2 separate regions of the Homo sapiens genome follow, and region 1 is linked to region 2. Evidence: promoter capture Hi-C in 16 types of primary human blood cells and fetal thymus (Javierre and others, 2016). All regions are on one chromosome and are shown on one strand. The core of a region is centred on a gene start or on the middle of the fragment in contact, and the rest is flanking DNA. Distances in the headings are between cores, read along the strand shown.

Region 1 (4,810 bases), core at 959-3,458, 230 kb before region 2:
CTCGATCTCCTGACCTCGTGATCCGCCCGCCTCAGCCTCCCAAAGTGCTGGGATTAAAGGCGTGAGCCACCGCGCCCAGCCTCTCTCCTCCAGTTTTAAGATACGAGAACATCCAAACATTTTCCCCCAAGCTTAAAGAATAAAAAGGATGAAGAGAAAGCTGAAGTAAGGAGAATTATAATTACACCAACTATCCTATTTTGAGTTATCTTTAACATTTTTTTCTGTAAGCAAAGGAGCACAGCAGGGATTACTTAATGAAACTATCTTCAAAACGAAAATGTTTCCTCCAACCATTTCTAGATGTTTAGAACTTATGAATGTTGTGAAATTTCTACCTCCACCAAAATAATGCTTATTTCTTAAAACCGATTTAAAAAGCCTTGACATATAACAGCACCAACCTATCAAACAGAAATAACCAACTCTTTAAATGTTATTCAAGTTGTAGTTATAATGTGTAATTAGTCAATCTGGTTGAGGACAATTTTATTCTAAAAACCTTCTTAGGAATTCTCTCCCAAAGAGTACCGAAACAAAAATCTCAAAGCAAGAAAGCAATGATGGAGTTGCCAGCTCTCCTTTGAAGACTATTAACGGGGATGATGGCGAATGCATGAAAACAACATACTATTTCCATGTGGGACCATCCGACCAGATTTTTAATATTAAAAAAAGCAAGGCCAGGCTCACGCCTATAATCCCAGTGCTTTGGGAGGCCAAGGTGGGAGGATGGCTTGAGCCCACGAGTTCGAGCCCGGCCTGGACAAGGCAGGGAGATAACATCTCCACAAAAAGCAAAAAAGTTAGCCGGGTATGGTGGCATGTGCCTGTAATCCCAGCTACTCGGGACGCTGAAGCGGGAGGATTGCTTGAGTCCGGGAGCTCAAGGTTACAGTGAGCTATGATGGCACCACTGCACTCCAGAGCTCTGTCTCAAAAAAAAAAAAAAAAAAAAAAGGCAAGCAAAGTCCTTTCTTCTCCATCATGAGAAATTTGGCAGCAGAGAGTCAGTAACCAGTGGAAGACTGCAAATTCTACCTGTAATTACTTCTGGTTTTGTGAAACAGCCAAGTGGTCTTCAAATTCAACTCCTCACAGAAGGGTATCAGCTGGCAAAAATAAATGTACTGTTTTAAAAATAGCATGAGGTACTAAGATAAGTTTTCCCAGAGCTTATCTCCGAGAGCAACAGCTCTAGGTTTTTGTTGTTTTTTTTAATTTACTTTCTTTCAGCCTGCCAAAGTCAACTCAAAATAACATTTAAAAGTCCACCTCTATGTTTTTAAATTGAAGTGCTAAGATGTCAATTTTTAACTAATGAGAACTGCTAAAGCCATCCTGGAGTTCACTACCTTTCCGTCTCCCTCAGGGGGGCTGTGAGAGAAGCTCTGCGGGGTAGCACTGCTTTCTCCTGCAGCTGAGAACAGATGCAATGTTCAGGCAGGACAGTCCGTCTACATGGTGACCCGGCCACGTGCAGCGGTGCTCTCATCACCACTTCTCCATGCCCAGGGCCACCTGCCCCACAGAAAGGTGCTGCCTGCCTGAACCAGGCTGTCCCCTTGCCCACCCACATTAGTCCCTGCCCTGGCCCGAGACAGACTCTGCAGCCTCAGGCTCGATTTGCTTGACTGTGGACTAAGAGGCCAGCATCATCTGCATCCACTCTGATTTTGTGAAAAGAAACACTGGTGGACTGATGCTCAGGGAGCAAAGTATCACTGCATGAGGTCATCCAGATCTGCTTCCGATGGTGAAGGAGGAGGGGACACTCACACACCAGTCACTTTCTCTACTGCTTACTACAGAAATTTCAAGAATTCAGAACACTGACCACATCTGCAATTCAAAGGGGCAGTGCGAGGGCTCTAGTTCCTTTTCTAGATCAAATATTATGAATTTTTATAATTTAGCAAAGAATTACCTGGGTATCATTACCTATTTTTTTAAATATAAGCTTTTCTCAGTAGTTGTCACTCAAGTCTGAACCAGAATATATGAACGCAAATTTGAATGTATCATGTAAAGTCATTCTATCAAGGTAAAGAGACGCAAGTTTTAGAAGATAATATGATCATTTCACTTACCATAGCTAACTGTCGTCCTATGTTCCCCACCGTGACGCCTCCTGAGAAAAATATACAAGGGAGCCAAGAACGAATATAGAGGAAATCTGGGGATGTATACCTGGAGCGAGAAAAGAAACTGTACCTTAGCAGTCAATTTCACCTGGCTCAATTCTACATCACAGATTCTCTGTAGTGGGGATATGCAGAACGCATATCAACCATCCAATGTTACGAATGTTCATATTTGTTTGGTTGTAACTGCTACTACTTGGTTTTCCTTTGCGTTACATTAAGTTATGGATAGCAGCATTTTTGAGAATTTCATGCCTAAATCTGTATCATTCTATATAAAAAACAAATAAAATATGAAAATATCTAAGCTTAGTGGATGTTTTAATGAAAGTTAAGTAAGCTTTCCAAAGCCAATATTTGAAAACACACACTTACTGATAGACACCATTATACACGAGAAACTGCGTGATCAGCGTAGCTAGAAAAGCTATGGTGATCCCCAGCCCAAGGCCACTTCTGGAACGATCAAATGTCCACCAAAGGCCCAAAGATAGGGCTGCTAAAGTCAAGGACAGCTGGACATTATTGGCAAAATCCAATTTCTGGTGATATAAAAGTTAAGGAAAAGTTTGCTGACTCTTATTAAGATAAAAAAACGTAAAACCACAAGGGTTAAAAACATGGGTATTTTATTATTGTACCACAGATAATTCACTGTCCATAAAAACTGTGTAATAAGCTAAAGAAAGGATTTGTTGGATACAGGTTACAGTAATCATTAAGATCACCTGAAATCTCCCTGCCATCACTGAGTCAAAAACTTAACCATAAGAATAAACTTGCTGAAAGCTATATATAAAGTGCTTATATATATTTATATAAATATATATTTATTATATATATTATATATATTTAAAAATATATATAATATATATAAAAATATAAATAAATATATATTTATTTTGACCATAAAACAATATATTTTACTATGAAGTCATCGATAGCCCCATTCTTCTTTCTCTTTTTAGTAATCTGAAATGGGTAGGTACCACCATCATGTCTGTATTATGACATGGAGTCATTTGAGTATATAACAAAACAAAACGCTTCAATATATAACCTAAGAAGATACTCTGGACGTAGCACAGAAAATTAAGGATACAGCACTGGCGTGGTTAATGCCAACAAAAACTGCTATGCAGCGCATGACACTGGCCCATTCTCTCTTAAATTTGTGGGGTTCTCCGAGGTGACTGTCGATACAGGGGTACAGTAGGCCAACAACAGCTGTTTTAAAAAAGTTGACAATGTTAGAATACAGCAGATTCAAGTTCCAGAATTTCAACGTGGTCATTAGTAACACAGTACATTACTCAAACCAGTCCTTTTCCTAGAAAAAATTATCAGCTATAACTTCAGAGTGATTTTATATTCTTGTTCTCTTTGAGTACCACTCCCACAAAATTGTACTGTTTGGAAAAGTTTTTTAAAAATCACTATTATTTAGTGTAGTTGAACATGTCTCAGTAAACACAGGAAGGAATCAAGCAGGGATTATTCATATTAATATGAGCAATATGTAACCTTATATTTAATATCCACATTTGCCTAAAGCACACAGAACTTAAATGACTATGTAGTTCACCTTGTCTTTTCATCCGGTGTGATTTCTATCTTACAATAAAAAGGTTAGCATCTGTCCACACCCTGTCACATCACAGCTCTGACACTCCTGCCACCACCCAGTACTGGGGCTGGGCACGTGATGAGATACATATTTGCTGATGTGACTTTGACAGTCTGGGTCACATGCTCCTAGAGTGGCCCTGGAGTTGATTTTCGGGGGTTCTAGCATGTTCTGTACGAGGCACTGAGCACCTACTGTGCACACATGCACATGGGCAAGTACGGGGCGAGACAGCCCCACACAGGCTTCGCTTATTCTCCATCTGGTTCCCGCATGGTCAAGCCTCAAGCTGCGGAAAGAACACCAGACCAAGAAGAGAAAACTCAGCCTCAAATCCCAGCTTGCCCTCTGATGGGACGTGGCTCTGCATGTTTGTTTTCTCATGTGTAAAATTATAAGGATTATGTAACTGGGACACAGAGAAAGAGATCACTGTGGTCTGGAATAGTTATTCTTTATAGACACGAACTTGGAATTTGGACAGGTGGGAAGGAATGGCATTCCAAAAGAGAAGTAAAATGGCAAAGATGAAGGCAGGAATGAATGTCTGTAGGGGGGAGTGGGGTGCCGGCCCGTGGGGTTGGATGCTGGGACACAAGGGTCACTGTGTCCCAGGGCTCTTGAGAACCCTGCAATTGTTTCACCTCAGTGTAGTATGAAAGAAATATACATTTTAGGTTCAACTGAGAAACAAGAAACACAGTTTGCATCAAACATTCAGATAAAAAATGTTGTTTTCAATTTATTATACTTCATCAGGTTCTAATTTTGGAGTTCTGAAAAATGGACCCCCCAAATTAACTTTACTTCACTATAGCTTAATAAATAAATAGGTAAAAAACATACTATGAAAAATTTTACTTATGCTCTTGGCTGATGGTTTAAAAAAAAGTAGAATATGAGAGTATGAGAAATTGTCCAGATATTCCTAGAAACCCTTGAGGATCCAATTACAAATACTGAAGGCTAAACTATTTCATTTCTAAGATCAAGTTTTTGGTTAAAGGAAAGAAACTATTCTGCCAAATGTATATGAAAC
Region 2 (4,623 bases), core at 1,972-4,471:
AGTTTGATGGAAGCTTCAGTGTTCTTACCCATCAGCACTCTTTGTTCAGCTTAGAAATCTAATAGATCAGAGTTACCCAAATTCAGTACGATTGACATTTTGGTCTGAACAATTCTCTGTTGAGGGGCTGTCCTGTGCATTGTGCAATATTTAGCAGCATTTCTGACCTCTCTATACTACATGCCATTAACACCCCATCCTCAATTCTTTTTTTTTTTTTTCTTGAGACAGAGTCTCACTCTGTCGCCCAGGCTGGAGTGCAGTGGCGCAATCTCGGCTAGCTGCCAGCTCCGCCTCCCGGGTTCACTCCGTTCTCCTGCCTCAGCCTCCCGAGTAGCTGGGACTACAGGCGCCTGCCACCACGCCTGGCTAATTTTTTTGTATATTTAGTAGAGACGGGGTTTCACCATGTTAGCCAGAATGGTCTCGATCTCCTGACCTTGTGATCTGCCCGCCTCGGCCTCCCAAAGTGCTGGGATTACAGGCGTGAGCCACCGCACCTGGCCCTCAATTCTTAATCATCCAAAATGTCTCCAGACAGCCCAAATGTTTCCTGGAGGGCAGTATTACCCTTCGCTGAGAAATGCTGATATAGGTAAAAGAACAGGTAGCCTCTGACCCCTCGTTTTCTTCTTTCCTCTAGGATGATGCCCTCTCCCCTTTTTCCCTAGCTACACCTCTGGTCCCTCTAAGTTTGACTGACTGGGGATGGTTAGAGTTAGCTACTGACTCTAGAAAGCATATACAGAGCTCAGGGTGGATGTCTATTTCCCTCCCTAGACCACACTCTTCATGGGCAAAGACAACATCTCTATCATTCGCTTACCTCTTGCACCAAACCCATAGTATGCACTCCATATGCTTCCTTAAACTACTTTCTTGTTTCAGAGCCAACAACAGAAAATGGGGACTGTGTAGACTTCTGGTCTAACCTAAATGTGTGAATTAGATTCAAGGAATCTTCCTTGGTAATGAAGGGGGAGCAGCCTGCAGAATCATGAGTCGTAGGGTCAGATTATTAAGAGTTAACAAAAAAACAGGAGTGGGAGAAGATGAGAAAAGCTCCCTCGCTGTTGCTATAGTGGTTGTCATGCAGTAAATACCTCTCATAGAGAGCTAGGGAATTCTCTTTCCTGGATTTTTAATTTCCTTCCGCAGCTTTACTCATGTTCAGGAAGGCAGACAAGTGGTCCTCAGTCACACCTACAACCTAATAGGGCTGTGGGGGATAGACCCATAAAGTAACACCCTAAGGCAGTGGAAGCAGATAACAAATGCAGGCTCCGGGACTAGTGCAGTCAACATCTTCAGTCTTACGTCAGGACGGGAGGATGCCACAGAATGACAGTAACCTAGGTGATACCATATTTTTAATAAACCGGCTGCTGTAATTTGCAAAGAAAAAGAATAGACTAGGATGAAATGCTAACCTGCATCACCTGACTCATGGCAGTCTTCTTATCAAATCATGCTCCCATCCCTGCCTCCCCTCCTCCTGGAACACCCCCATTCTAAGTGCTGGAAGCTGCTAGTTTTTTCCAGTGTACTGAATCAGCGTACCCCAGATACCAGCTTATTCAGATGTTCTAAAGGGTGTTATAGATCCATAGAATTTGGGGGCCAAAGGGGACCCTGCAGAATGACGCAGTCTGAACTCCTCGTGTTCTGTATATTTAACAAACAACCCATTAGAGAAGGAACATGATATGATTAGCCCTGTGAGAGGGAACATGTCAGAGCAAAGTACATCTCTGATGCTTTCTTCCACTCTCCCAGTTTACTCCCCCCACTCCCAAACACAAAAAGTTCCATTTTCTACAAGTGTGGGGGTGGGGCAGGTGGCCTGGGGATATAGCCTGTACAGATGCAAGTCGAGTATTTTTAAGGATTGCTGAGATACCCACCTCCACAGCTTCGGATATGGGTGAGACGCTATTGGTCTTCCTGGAGCCCACGCGGAACTTGGCAGCCTTGTAGATCTTCCAGTACACGAAGAGCACCACACAGAGCGGCAGGTAGAAGGCGCCTACGGTGGAGAACACGGCGTAGGAAGGCTCGCGGCTTACCTGGCACTCCTCGCTGCCCTCAGAGTACGTCTCTCCCCAGCCAAAAAGCAGCGGGGCCAGAGAGATGACAGCGGAGAGTGCCCAGGTGAGCGCGATCATGACGTTGGAGACGCACTTGCGGGTGCGGAGCGTGTATTCCATGTGGCGCGTGATGGACCAGTAGCGGTCCAGGGCTATGGCCGTCACGTTCCAGATGCTGGCCGTGCAGCAAAGCACGTCGCACGCGATCCAAAGCTGGCACAGCCTCCGACCTAGCTGCCAGCGGCGCCCGGACAGCTCGTGCACCAGGCTCAGCGGCATGACCAGCGCGGCCACCAGGACATCCGAGACGGCCATGGATGCCACCAGGTTGTGGGGCACGCGGTGGAAGGTGCGTACACGGAGGATGGTCGCCAGCACCAGCAGGTTCCAGGCGAACGTCGCCGCCACCAGAAAGCCCAGCAAGGTGAGAATAAGCACTCCGAAGACCGAGAGCAGGGGCGAGCTGGGGCGCAGGTCGTCTTTGCCGAGGCTGTGGTTGGTCTCCAAAGGGGAGGGGGTGGAGAGGGAAAAGGAGGTTAGGTTCACAGGTAAATCCATCTCTGGGTCAGGAGACCGCCCTGGGGTACTTGCAGAAGGGGTGTTCAGGAGGACTTAAGGCGGCCACTGTGCCCAGAGCCAATCCGGATGTTTGCAACCTCTGGCCAGTGGGGGAGTTTCTGGAAAGTGCCTGTGAATTTGGCCCCAATTTCCTGCTAGTGAGCATCCGTTGGAGATGGTGTGGCTGCAAGCGCGGCAGGTCTGAAGCCCTCAGAGGCTAAGGAAGCAGAGGCGAGGGGCTGCGTGTCGCAGCCAGGGCCCGCCTAAGCTGTCAGGAGCCCAGGGCTCCTCGCCTTGGTGGAAAGGCTGTTTGGCCGCCCAGAGCCGAGCATCTCCCAGATCGGGGAGAAGCTGGGCGGCCAGCAGCGTGTGGGTGCAGGAGAGGGGCTGGTGCGTCAGAGCAGTCGCTCTCACCGCGTTGTCTCCCTGCCCACCCTTCTCTCTAGGCAGCCGGCTGCAGCCTTAACTCCGTGCTAGGGAAGCCAGTTTTGGGGGAACCTGCTTTCTGGGACCTGCCTTCTGTCCCTGTTGCCCCCGCCACCCCTTCGGAGGCTGCAGCTCCGGAGAGCGAATGCTGGCGCGCCCACCGAGACCTGCCTTATCCAAGTGGAGATCTAGCCCTACGTAAGCCATCAGCTGATAAGGCCATCTCTCCCCGCCTCCTGGCTCAGAGCGCGCGGCTTTGGGGCTGTCCGCGGTGCTGCTGCGCTCCCCGCGCCTGGCGGCTCCCAGTGTGCGCCACCACATGTGGTGCTGTCCGCGGTGCTGCCACCTCGCCCCGCCCGGGAGCAGGAGGGTTGGCGCTGTCCACGGTGCTGCCTCTCTTGCCTGAAATGAGTTTGCCACGTTGAACAAGTTGACCAATGAACTTTCCTCAAAACGTTCCCCTAGCCACCCCCACACGTCCCTCTAGGGGTGGACTGGAGGCCCTAGACACTGCTTTCTCAGCTTTCCATAAGTATTTACTCTTCCTGCAAGAGTTCTGAATTAGGGGTCTAAGATAGTTTCACTAACTTTTGTTCTCCGGAAGATTTTAGCACGTGATTGCTTTCTTCTTACCCAGCTCTCAGTTGCTTCCCTTAAGGGTTGTTTTCCTTAAAGGAGGAGAGGCGAGATAGCAGTTGCTGCTGTTCCTAGAGATGGTTGAGGTGTTGGAGCTAGAATGCTTCACCTGGCTCCAACAGGAATGGCTGAAGAATGCTTTATCTCCTCAGAGTCATAAGGCAGATGGGTAGTCTCCAGTGGTCCCTACTAAATTTGCTTCCTGAGAAGGAAAAATTGGGATACAAGTTATTATAAGAGCTCCATCTCACTCAAAAGAAAGAGGTAATTTAACTCTCCCCTCACACATGCACACAAAACAACCACAAACACATCCACAGAAACTGAGAAAATATCAGAAGCTTCTAACCAGAAATTATGATTGAAAGCACCTCATAAAGAGGCACATGATATAGCAATATAAAAGAAGTTGAAATTTTAAAAATGATGGACAGAAATGGCAGGAAAAAAGTAAGGTGTTAATAAGCTTTGTTTTTAAGTATATAAAATGAGTGTCGTGAAATCCTGTGCATTTACAAGTAAATTTAGTCAGAAAGTTTTAACTATTTAAAGATTAGCAACATGTTTTCATATAAGATTTTGTTTCTTGCAGAGTAAAACAAGTATCAGGAGAATGCACTGAGAAAAGAGAAAGTCCTCCACTGGAACCTAGAGGACGGGACAACATCATTAAATACCGGATTATTCACAGGGCTGTTTCAAACACCACTTAAAAACAGCTGATGGTGACTGCCTGCATGCAGAGCAACTGTGCATGGCCCCAATCTGGAAGCAAGCTTGTGCTTCTTTAAGGCAAATCACCTTCTTGAGGTCATGGAACTAATGGGAATGAGATGTAAACTATGAATCCTCTTCTTTGGAAAAAGTTCTGCATCTAGTCTCAGGGCCTGTTATCTGGAGGAATGGATGAACTGTG

The links. Contacts are between HindIII fragments. The CHiCAGO score rates a contact against its expected background, and 5 or more counts as called.
Region 1: a fragment that was not itself captured here is called in contact with the fragment with the promoter of HTR5A in region 2 in 1 of 17 cell types (fetal thymus); the score reaches 7.6 in fetal thymus.

The regions. Positions count from the first base shown.
Region 1 is chr7:155,300,127-155,304,936 of GRCh38, reverse strand. It overlaps INSIG1 (insulin induced gene 1), which reads right to left. Exons shown (of 6, transcript NM_005542.6): 3 at 3,247-3,371; 4 at 2,520-2,686; 5 at 2,091-2,190. Among named protein-coding and RNA genes, the nearest start is that of INSIG1-DT, 3.6 kb to the right of the region's middle. The HindIII fragment of the contact is 492 bases long and covers 1,963-2,454 here.
Region 2 is chr7:155,068,922-155,073,544 of GRCh38, reverse strand. HTR5A (5-hydroxytryptamine receptor 5A) reads right to left here and starts at 3,221. Exons shown (of 2, transcript NM_024012.4): 1 at 1,905-3,221. The coding sequence starts at 2,645. HTR5A-AS1 (HTR5A antisense RNA 1) reads left to right here and starts at 1,988. Exons shown (of 2, transcript NR_038945.1): 1 at 1,988-2,511; 2 at 4,300-4,623. RefSeq lists enhancers at 1,846-2,672, 3,460-3,529 and a silencer at 3,260-3,349. The HindIII fragment of the contact is 4,035 bases long and covers 16-4,050 here.